2 separate regions of the Homo sapiens genome follow, and region 1 is linked to region 2. Evidence: promoter capture Hi-C in 16 types of primary human blood cells and fetal thymus (Javierre and others, 2016). All regions are on one chromosome and are shown on one strand. The core of a region is centred on a gene start or on the middle of the fragment in contact, and the rest is flanking DNA. Distances in the headings are between cores, read along the strand shown.

What was found. The method cuts DNA at HindIII sites, captures the fragments that hold promoters and counts their contacts. A CHiCAGO score of 5 or more calls a contact.
Region 1: a fragment that was not itself captured here is called in contact with the fragment with the promoter of LINC01548 in region 2 in 2 of 17 cell types (naive B cells and total B cells); the score reaches 5.8 in naive B cells.

The regions. Positions count from the first base shown.
Region 1 is chr21:32,646,875-32,651,567 of GRCh38, forward strand. SYNJ1 (synaptojanin 1) reads right to left here. Exons shown (of 33, transcript NM_203446.3): 23 at 3,310-3,472. Among named protein-coding and RNA genes, the nearest start is that of CFAP298-TCP10L, 37 kb to the left of the region's middle. The HindIII fragment of the contact is 1,556 bases long and covers 629-2,184 here.
Region 2 is chr21:33,168,330-33,173,499 of GRCh38, forward strand. It overlaps LINC01548 (long intergenic non-protein coding RNA 1548), which reads right to left and starts at 1,907. Exons shown (of 4, transcript NR_024102.1): 1 at 1,812-1,907; 2 at 1,367-1,504; 3 at 114-252. LOC105372787 (a long non-coding RNA gene) reads right to left here. Exons shown (of 3, transcript XR_937675.3): 3 at 4,612-4,851. RefSeq lists an enhancer at 1,119-1,188. The HindIII fragment of the contact is 7,514 bases long and covers 1-5,170 here.

The DNA of each region.
Region 1 (4,693 bases), core at 157-2,656, 520 kb before region 2:
GCCCCAGAGCAGCTTCTCCAGTGCAAGCCAACTCAAGTTTCCTGCTCTCCTTCCAAACCTGTCCACTGTGCTCTGTGGAACTGCCCCACTCCCTTGCCTAACCCAGGTCCAGCCTCAGAGTCAACAAGCTCTCAGGAGCCACACAGTCTTCCCCCAGAAGGCTCCTCCCTGCAACCCTCACCCCACAAAGACCCGCTTTGCTTTAATTAAGTAAACACTGGTTCTCCCCCAGGGTCTCCTCATCTCCACTTACTTCTGGGTAGGAAAGTGGGCACAAGGTAACCCTTGCAACCTAACTGCCATTCCAGAACATTAGTCTTCCAACCCTGAACAAAAAGTCCTACTGCTCTGAGGCTATGCCATCAGGAATTTATGTAACATCCTCTACCCCCACTTGCTACAGTCATCTCCAACGTCCATTCTTCCATTTCCTGAACCCACTCACTGAGGACTAAGCAGAGAGCAAGACTGTAAGTCAGGTCCCGCACCATCTTTCTGCGTGGCATCAAAGTCCATGTGGACAACTCGTTCAATAGCAAAATGCCTTGGTCCTATCCTTATGGACATTCGCCTTCACTCCTAACCCTCACCCCTCAGAACTGCACTCTTCTGAAATAATAAACTCAAAAGCTTCACTCTGACTTTGGCCTCCCAGCTTTTCAGTTCTCTCCCTTGGCTACTCCTTCTCTTTTGATTTCTTCAGAAGCCAGGGTTTGATCCCTCTAACTTTTACCTCCATCTGATTCTGCTTTCTTCTGTACCTACCTTCAGATTCTATGGTTCTTCATCTCAAACATTACCCTACTTCACTCTTCTTCCATTGCACGTGCTTGACATAACCCCATCCCTGCACTGATTCCCCTGTTTAATCTTTCTGTGATAACACTTGGATTGCTGACTGCCTCTGCTAAAGAAAACCACCCAGTCCTGACAACTGCAGTCACATTTGAAATTATGCTTTTCAGTCTCTTCTGGCCTAAAGTGCCTGGCAATTCCATGATTTGCTGGTTTGCTCTTCCCCTCACCCTTTGCTCTTCAGGAGCTTTACTGCAAAACTCCTTAACCCTCCTGAAACTGTGAGCTGTCCCACTCCTGCAGATCACTTCAACACTTCACAGAGAAGAGGGAAGTCTTAAGATGGGAACCCCTACTTCAACAGCCTGCCCCCAAGCTGGAGTCTCATTACATGGTTGTCACTTGGGTATCTGAGGATGGAACAAATGGGCCCCACCCAGCCTAATTTTCTCAGTGACACTGCTCTACTATTCTGCCTTGCCCTTCCCCCAAACCATCAGCCCTTTCTCCTCTACTTTTCCATTAGCACTGTGCATTCTCAAGCCTGTCCCATCCAAAACCACCACCCTAGGACCTCCAATCTTCCTAGAGCAATTGCCCTCTTCTCTTTCCCCCCAAACTTTCTTAAAGAGTTGTCTACAGACACTTTTCTCCACTTCTTCACCTTCCATCCATATCAATTTACCACTATCTGACTTCATCACTTCTGAGATCACTCTCATGAAATGTCAACAACAGCTTCCCTTCCTGTTATTAAATCAGAAGGACACATTTCTGTCCTCATTTCTTCTCATCTTTCTGTGTTACAAGACACCACTGACTACTCCCCTTCCATGCTCCACTTTCTTTCCTTGATTTTTAAGCCATGAATTTCTCTTGGCTCTTTGACATTTCTAGAAACAATTGCCATTGTTTCTTCTCATTTTCTTTTCACGGGCAGCCTTCTTCTGTCTATATTTAAACTCTGTGTTTCCACATACTCAATCCCAGGTCTGTATTTCTCCATATTCGATTCATTCTCTTCTGTCTCGTCATAATCCTATTGGCCAAAGTTATATTAACAAATGCCCATGCTTTGCAGGCTATTAGAGCTGCCTTGACTCCAGAGCTCTTTCCTGAGCACCAGACTCATGTTTGACTGACTCCATGAACATCTCAAATTCAACATATCCGAAACAAAATTCATCTTCCATCCCACACCTACTTCTCTCTCTGCATTTCTTTTCTTCATTTACTCCCTCACAAACATCCCTCCATAATCCATTTGGATCCTCTTTATCCCCACTTAGACTGTGCACATGCTTTCTTCTTGGATCACTCCTCTATAGCATTAATTCCATTCTCCCTGAGTCTTTGGATTCTCAACTTAAATTTCAATTCCTCTGGGAAAGCTTGCCCAATTTCCCAAATCCAGGTTAAGCAACTTTCCCATGAGCTACCACAAAACCATTCATTATCACATTTATGTCACTTTATTATAATTGCCTGCTTACTTACACGTAACACCCAATAAGCTATGAGTTCTGGAAAGGCAAGAACCACAGCTGTCGAATCTCCAGCACCCAGCTGTATCTGGCATAAAGGTACTACATAAATATGTGTGGACTGAGTAAACAAATGAACAGATAATGTGAAAATGAGATAACCTTGTAAGACGTTCAACTCTTAAATGTGGTACCTAGCTATACAGGGCATTACAATATTATTATAATCTAAGGTATGCATTTTAATGAAAAACTGGCTAGAATAGCATATTGTGTTAGAAAACAAATGCATTTAAAAATTTTTTCTTTTGATAATGTTGCCATCAAACAAATGCATTTTTAAATCATGTTTAAGGAAATTTTCGGCGTAATTACTTAAATTCATTTCTGTTCTTAGAATACCCTTTTGGAACTTCTACTTTTTTACCTCAACTTTAATTATTGGGACTAAACCATACACCAACAATACTAATTTGGGTATTTATCCAATAAGAATATAAATTAACATTTGTAAAGGTCTTAATATTTGAATGGAAGAATGGTAAATACATTTAAAGTATACGCAAAATAAACACAATATGATGTGAAATAAATTTGTTTTGTTTTGTTTTGTTTTGAGACAGCCTCGCTCTGTTGCCCAGGCTGGAGTGCAGTGGCACAATCTCGGCTCACTGCAACCTCTGCCTCCTGGGTTCATGCGATTCTCCTGCCTCAGCCTCCTGAGTAGCTGGGATTACAGGCATGCACCACCACGCCCAGCTAAATTTTGTACTTTTAGTAGAGACAGGGTTTCGCCATGTTGGACAGGCTGGTCTTGAACTCCTGGCCTCAGGCAATCCACCCTCCTCAGCCTCCCAAAGTGCTGTGATTGCAGGCATGAGCTGCCGCACCTGGCCAAAATACATTCTAATTAATAGTGCTATGTACGTCCCAAGAAGAAGAAGAAAGATGAACTTGGAAAATAAGACTTTACAGATTGGAAGAAAACATATCTAGAACTACAAGAAGTAAATGTGTTTAAGAAACAAACCTTCCATATCAAAATCTGCTGCAACCTCTGCATCTTCACCAAGCAGGGTAGAGCTTGTTGATGATGGCAATGCAATGCTAATTTTCTCTAAACTCATTTCTTCTTCCAAATTTTTGATCCAGTCTGGACTTTTTAAAGCAATAGTTATAGTCCGATTCAATAACTAGCGGAGTAAAAGAGATATAAAATAAAGATTAACATGAAAGCTAACTAATTTGGAATAAAGAGGCTGACTTCGTTAAACTATGCAATGGTATAGACAGTTAATTTAGTTAGACAATTCAGCTAACTAAAGAAATAGTTCTTTCACATATACTAAATTTCAAACTAGTTTAAAGGTTGTTCCCAGTTCTCCCTTTAAACACCTGTGGTGATAAATAAAGATCTTTTCTAGGATGCCCAGAGATGCAAGTTTCCTTTGCTACAACCACTATGTTTTCCTGGCCAGATGTAAATTCACCAACAACTCTGCTACATAACTTTATACTTTCTTAATTTTGATTCACAGATTAAGTAATTGTTCCCACGTGAAACAACTACAAAAGAGACAGCAGAAAATCTTTAAAATGCATTTCCTGTTCCTGTTCATTTGGTCTTTCCTAACTTGGCATATGGTCCTAAGAGCTGCTATATTGTCAGCTGCTAAGTGCTAACCTATACAGTTTTAGCATTTCAAATGTCAGAAGAATATTAAGAGAACTGAACACCATTTTAAATCTTCAACAAAAATTAATCATTCTAAAAACAGAATGACTTCTACCTGTGAAACTGGCACTCTGCCTTCTCTATAAATTTGGGTGACTTTTAGACTAAAGTATAATCTAAGACAACCAAGACATTATAATCAAATTATAGCAGATCGTGTCAATGTATTTAAAAAATACTCTCAAAAAAACTTGCTGATAACAGCAAGACTCTTTGGTCAAGGACAAAATGTGCACTAGAAAGGAGTTCTCATTTAAAACCCATATTCTTATAACAAACTTGCTTTCTAAATTTAATCTCTCTCCCACATAGTTTCAATTTCCTTTGTTTGAAGAGTTTCTTAATGTGAACAAGATGTGAATATTTTTGGTATTTGCAAATGAACTGTGTAGCTGTGATCAATATGCTGTGCTGACAGTTGGCACCTTTGTGGGTACAGATCTTCCTTGGCTCAAAGTGTTACTGATATTAGAATTCCTTGAAGGCATAATAATGGAGAGGTTGAAAGTTGCTGAACTGAGTGGCACAGCTGTGTTTATTAGTAATTTAGCATCCACACTGAGCTTTAAAGTCAGAATCCTAAGAATTCATAATCCTTTACTTGCCAAGTAGATATGAGTACTAAAATCAATCCAATTTCAGAACTTAACACGCTTTACAAGTCATATATTACTTTTCA
Region 2 (5,170 bases), core at 657-3,156:
GACTTAAAGCAGAAAAGTGGCATAGATAGATTTTCATTTAATACAGACCATCCTGGCTAAAATGTGTCAATGGATTACAACAGAACAAGATTAGAGGCAAATCAACTAGGTACCTGCTGTGAGCAGTCCAGATGAGAGGTGGTGCAGCTGTGACTTAGGGAAGTGGTGCTGGATGGGAAGGAAGAGACTTGGGGAGTGTTCCAAGGGTGTCCGCGCTTGAGCTCCCCACAGAAGCAGGACCTGTGACAAGGGCTGATGTGCAGGCTGTTTAGGAATTGATGCCAAGTAACAGCAATGGGGGCTGGGAGGAGTGAAAGAGGGAGGTGGGCTTGGTGTGGTGGCTCACACCTGTAATCCCAGCACTTTGAGAGGCTAAGGCAGGAGAATCGCCTGAGGCCAGGAGGCCAAGACCAGCCTGGGCAACACAGGGAGACCGCATCTCAACAAAAAGTTTTAAAAATTAAAAATTTTAAAAATAGTGGGAGGAGAAAGAAGCATCCCAGTGTGGTGTTATTGGCCTGGTTACCTCCATGGGCTGCTGGGACTGGATCCCCTGGAGACCCCCTGAGGAAGCGTGTGAAAGATGCCTCAGAATTGTCCACCCAAGACATGGATGGAAGACAGATGAGCTCATCAGCTCCTGCCCCTATTGGTCAAAGTTTTCCCCCAAGGAAAGCCACCTCCCTTGAGCTTCCAAGTTTACACACAAGCCAGTATAGCTAAGCAAGTCCCCGCAGGCTTGGACAGAAAGCCTGCCACAGCAGATACCCACTGCCACAGCTGTCAGGTGACAGCTTGTTGCGGTTGTCAGAGCAACGCCCAGGAGCAAAAAAGGCGAGCCAGGTCAGGCGCAGTGGCAAACTCCTGCAATCCCAGCAATTTGGGAAGCCAAGGCAGGAGGATTGTTTGAGGCCAGGAGTTCAAGACCAGCTTGGGCAAGAAAGAGACCCCTGTCTCTACAAAACATAAAAAATTAGCCAGGCATGGTGGTGCGTGCCTGTGGTCCCAGCTACTCAGGAGGCTGAGGCAGGAGGATAGCTTGAGCCCAGGAGGTCAAGGCTGCAGTGAGCCATGGTCGTGCCAGCACACCCTAGCCTGAGTGATAGAGCGAGACCCTGTCTCTAAAAACTTAAAGAAAAAAACGGTGAGCCAAGAGCATGTGAAAGGAGCGTGAAAGGAGCATGAAAGGGAGGTGGGCAGAAGAAGCTGGTTGGATAGAGGAAGTGAAAGGAAGAGGCGCATTTGTACAGACAGCCGCCCTTCTGGACCGAGTAACCACGTGGAGAGTGGTTCTCCATCCACCCACATAGGACGCACAAGGAAAAGAAGAGGTTCCCAAAGATAAGGGATTTCATGGGGAAAATACCTCATCGAATGGACTGCGACCCTCAAGGGAAGATGTTCCATAAGCTCGGCGCGAGTCAGGCAGTAGGGAGAGGTCTTGAGATCACAGGTGAAGTGAAGGCTCCCAGGAAGGGTGATTGCAGGGCGAGGGCCTCCTGACCTGGAGACAGGGCCCCAAGGAACAGTCATACGAAGAGGGCAGAGGACAAATGAAGAGGGAGTGGACAGAAAGAGAAATGGGAGGAGAGCCATGTGCCAGGAGCCAAGTGATTTAAATGCAGGTGTAGTGCCCTGGAGAGTTCCATGTGTAAGAACAAGTAAATCATTGTTGCTTACCTCTCCCTTGAAAAAAAAAAAATACCCTGCTTCTTGTCCTAAGTTCCCAGGCTCTCTTTTTGCCTACTCCCTCCCCAGTTGCTGAGTCCAGTCAACCCTCCTGCTACAGTATCCCCTATAGCGCCATTCACCTGCCCTCCTCTGCTCCCTTGGCCAACATCTAGGTTCAGAACCTCATTGTCTCTCTTCTGGTCTGTCCTGCCTCCTCCTCCCTCTGCTGCTGTCCATCCAGGTGGATTTTCCTAAAGGGAAAAGGTGCACTTGAGGGCAAATTTCTCTTGGCCATGCACTTAGGAGGGGGATTTCTGGGTAAAGGGGTAAGTTCACTGCTTTTCTAATTCTCTACTTTTTCCTTATCCTCACCCATAAATCTTACAACCCCCTTGAAGTGCAATAACTTTATTTCTAGGACCTCTCAGAGCCTTTGCCTGTGCTGTTCCCACTTGCCGGGAATGCCTTTCCCTTCATCCCCAATAGTTCAAGCCCCACCTTTTCCTGAGCCCAGCTCAGATGCCACCCCCTCATCCAGGAAGGCCTCCTTGATACCTCCCTACCAGAATTAATCTCTCCTTCTCTTGTGGTCTGAAGACTCTTGGCTTTCTCCCCTGTCCTATTTTTGCTTGTTATCACTGACATTGCTTTACACGCTTTTTCTCCTCTGCTGGGAGCAAGGGCAGTTTCTATGTCACAATGCCCCACTATGCCCATTAAGCTACAGTGCACATGGTACCCATCCCGAGACCAACATTCTTTTTACACTTCTGTGCTTCTGACCTAGGAAAGTCTTACTTTTCATAGAGTGTCATAGCTGAGTTGGAAGCTCTTTTCTTAGAGCCTCTTAAAATAATGGCGTGCCTTATAGTCAATGATCTCTTACATTCCATTAAATACAGTAGGAGATGTTCAACCAATATTTGCTAAATTGGAGGAGTTAAAGTCATTTTGAGTAGGAGAGGGAATCTAGACCCACTATTTGGATTAGTACAGATTTTAGTGCAACTCAGGGCTTCTGCAGAGCCCCTCCAGCTTTCACCTGTCCACTTAGTTGATGATGAGCACGCCTGCGAACTCTTCACACTTTCCAAACCCACCAAGGCAGCTTCTCCCGTAAGGACATGTTTCTTACCTTCAAGACCCCTGTTGCCTCCAGCAGCAATCTCAGTAATGACGTCTACTTCTGTTTCCTGCTTCCTTCTCCCTGACTCCTGCTTCCTGGAGTCCCCTCAGATAAACCTCCTGTGCCCAAGACCTTGTCAGGGTCTGCATTTACGGGAACCCAACTAAAATTCCAGGACCACCATATAAAGGTCCCTTTGTCGGGGGCTGGGCCTGCTCTGGATACGGTAGGGAAGTGGCTCCAGGGTCTGCGGCCAGCGAGGAGAGGGTCCGGCAGTCACCAGTGGGAGCTGTTTCCTCCCGTATTCCTCCCACCTGTCCCTACCTGTCCTGCTGGCGGGGTAAAGAGTGGGATTTACCTCGTGACAGCTGCCTTACAGCCCCATGAAAAGGCACTTTGGGCTGCGGTTGGGGGGAGCGCATCTCCAGGGATTGCAGGGTAGGAGGACAAGAACTCTCCCTGGCCTGGGAGTCAGGGAAATGGAGAGATCAGAGCAACACAAGTGCTGGGAACAGATGGGGCTTCCTGGGCTCCAGCGCTAATTAACCAGCTCTGCAGCTCAAGGCCTGGGCCTCATGATAGTAGTCTGAGGGCCCCTGGGGTGCAGGGTTGAGCACACAAGGCTGCACACAGGCAGAGGGAGAGGGGTGATCCCGGGAACAGCCATCCCTCCATTCCCTAATCCAGAGGCCGCTGCCCTTCTTGGGCCAGAGAGCAGCAGCTTCTAATACAGATCTGGGCTTCTCACTCAGCAGGTGCCAGGGACCCAAGGAGACAAATGGAGGAAAAAGAGTGAGGAACTCCTGCCCCAAGGAGGCCGCTGCCACCGCCCACTGGCCGCATGCCAACTGGACCCCAGATGATAAGCGTGAAACTCCCAGAGGTTGAGATTGGGAGACTCTCCTCCTCCCTGCCTTTCATCTTGTGTCCCCTCTCTTGTCCCTTCCTCACTTGCAAGAACAGAACTCATTTGATGTGTTTCCGCTACCAAATCAGAGCAGTGAGTGCAGAGTTGGGGAGGAAATTGAAGGGAAACAATTCAAACTGTTTCACTGGAGTTGCAGGCGCTGATAAAGGCATCTTCGTTAGTTAATGAGTTAATTTCTGATAAACCTTAGATACCTAAAATAGGCTACATATTATATGGCCTAAATTGATTCCTAATTAACACTTGAAATGTAATCACAATCAAGGTGGCTTTTTAAATTGTGGGCAAGAGAAAGAAATACATCTCAGACACAAAACAACCTGTACTTAACACTGCCATAAAGTGGATCAGGCTGTATTTATATTTATGTTTGTATTGAGGCTGATTTTTCTGATTCTCTCCCAGTTTGGGTGTTTTATCTCTGAATCCCCAGTGCATAGCACAGTCCTGGCTTGTAGTAGGAATTAGCAAATATCTGTTGAATACATAAACCCTCTTTTCAAAATACAGGACCAGAGCATAGAAACAGAATAGCTAATGTACACTCTTTTGTTGAATGGGGCAAGCACAGCCCAGGTAGCAAGTAAATAGTGACAAAATAATTCTGGAATTATCTCCCATCCACAAGCCAGGATCCAAAATAAATGTCCTTTGTTCTACATTGTTATTGTTTTTTAAAAGTCATTTTCTTTTATCTTCTAAGATACTTATGGATAGAATAATATAAAGTCTGGATTTGCTTCAAAATACCTTAGCAGACTGGGATTATAGATGAGACAAGACCAGCTGTGTGGGAATAATTGTTGGAACTGGCTAGTGGGGACATAGAAATTCATAAAACTATACTGTCTACTTTTGAAATTAATTTTCAAAAATATGCTTGAAATTGTCCTTTATAAAAGGTTTTTATTACTCCATGCTAGGAAAAATGTAATTGAAACTAAGTAGTAGAAATGTTAGAAAAACACAAGCAAACAATTCACAAGGTTGGTGCCATATCCCTTTAGGACATATATGCTCACTGCAGCGCCCACGGGTCCAGTTGGAGAGATGTGATGCTCACAGAGCCTGTGTCCAAGGACTTTCTTTGCCGTTATCTCGTGGTTCTGCAAATACACGCTCAAGGCTGCCAAAAATGAGTGATAGTAAATTACCCCGCTAATTCAATGACTCTTCTTCAATAGAAACTGATTACAAAGAAAAAAAAGTAGTCAACAATCCTAACAGTATTTCAGCAGTTCTTGGGAACATTTTGCAGAATGTAAGGGAAGACATTAACAAGAAATTTCTAGCAAAATTCCATTACTTCAAGTAGTCTTGCACAAAATGTGAGGCAGAGGGGGTAAATGTATATGCCCTTACTTTTGATGATGCTGTTTTCTTGTTAAAAAAAACATCTTCTGGCCGGGCAAGGTGGCTCACGCCTGTAATCCCAGCACTTTGAG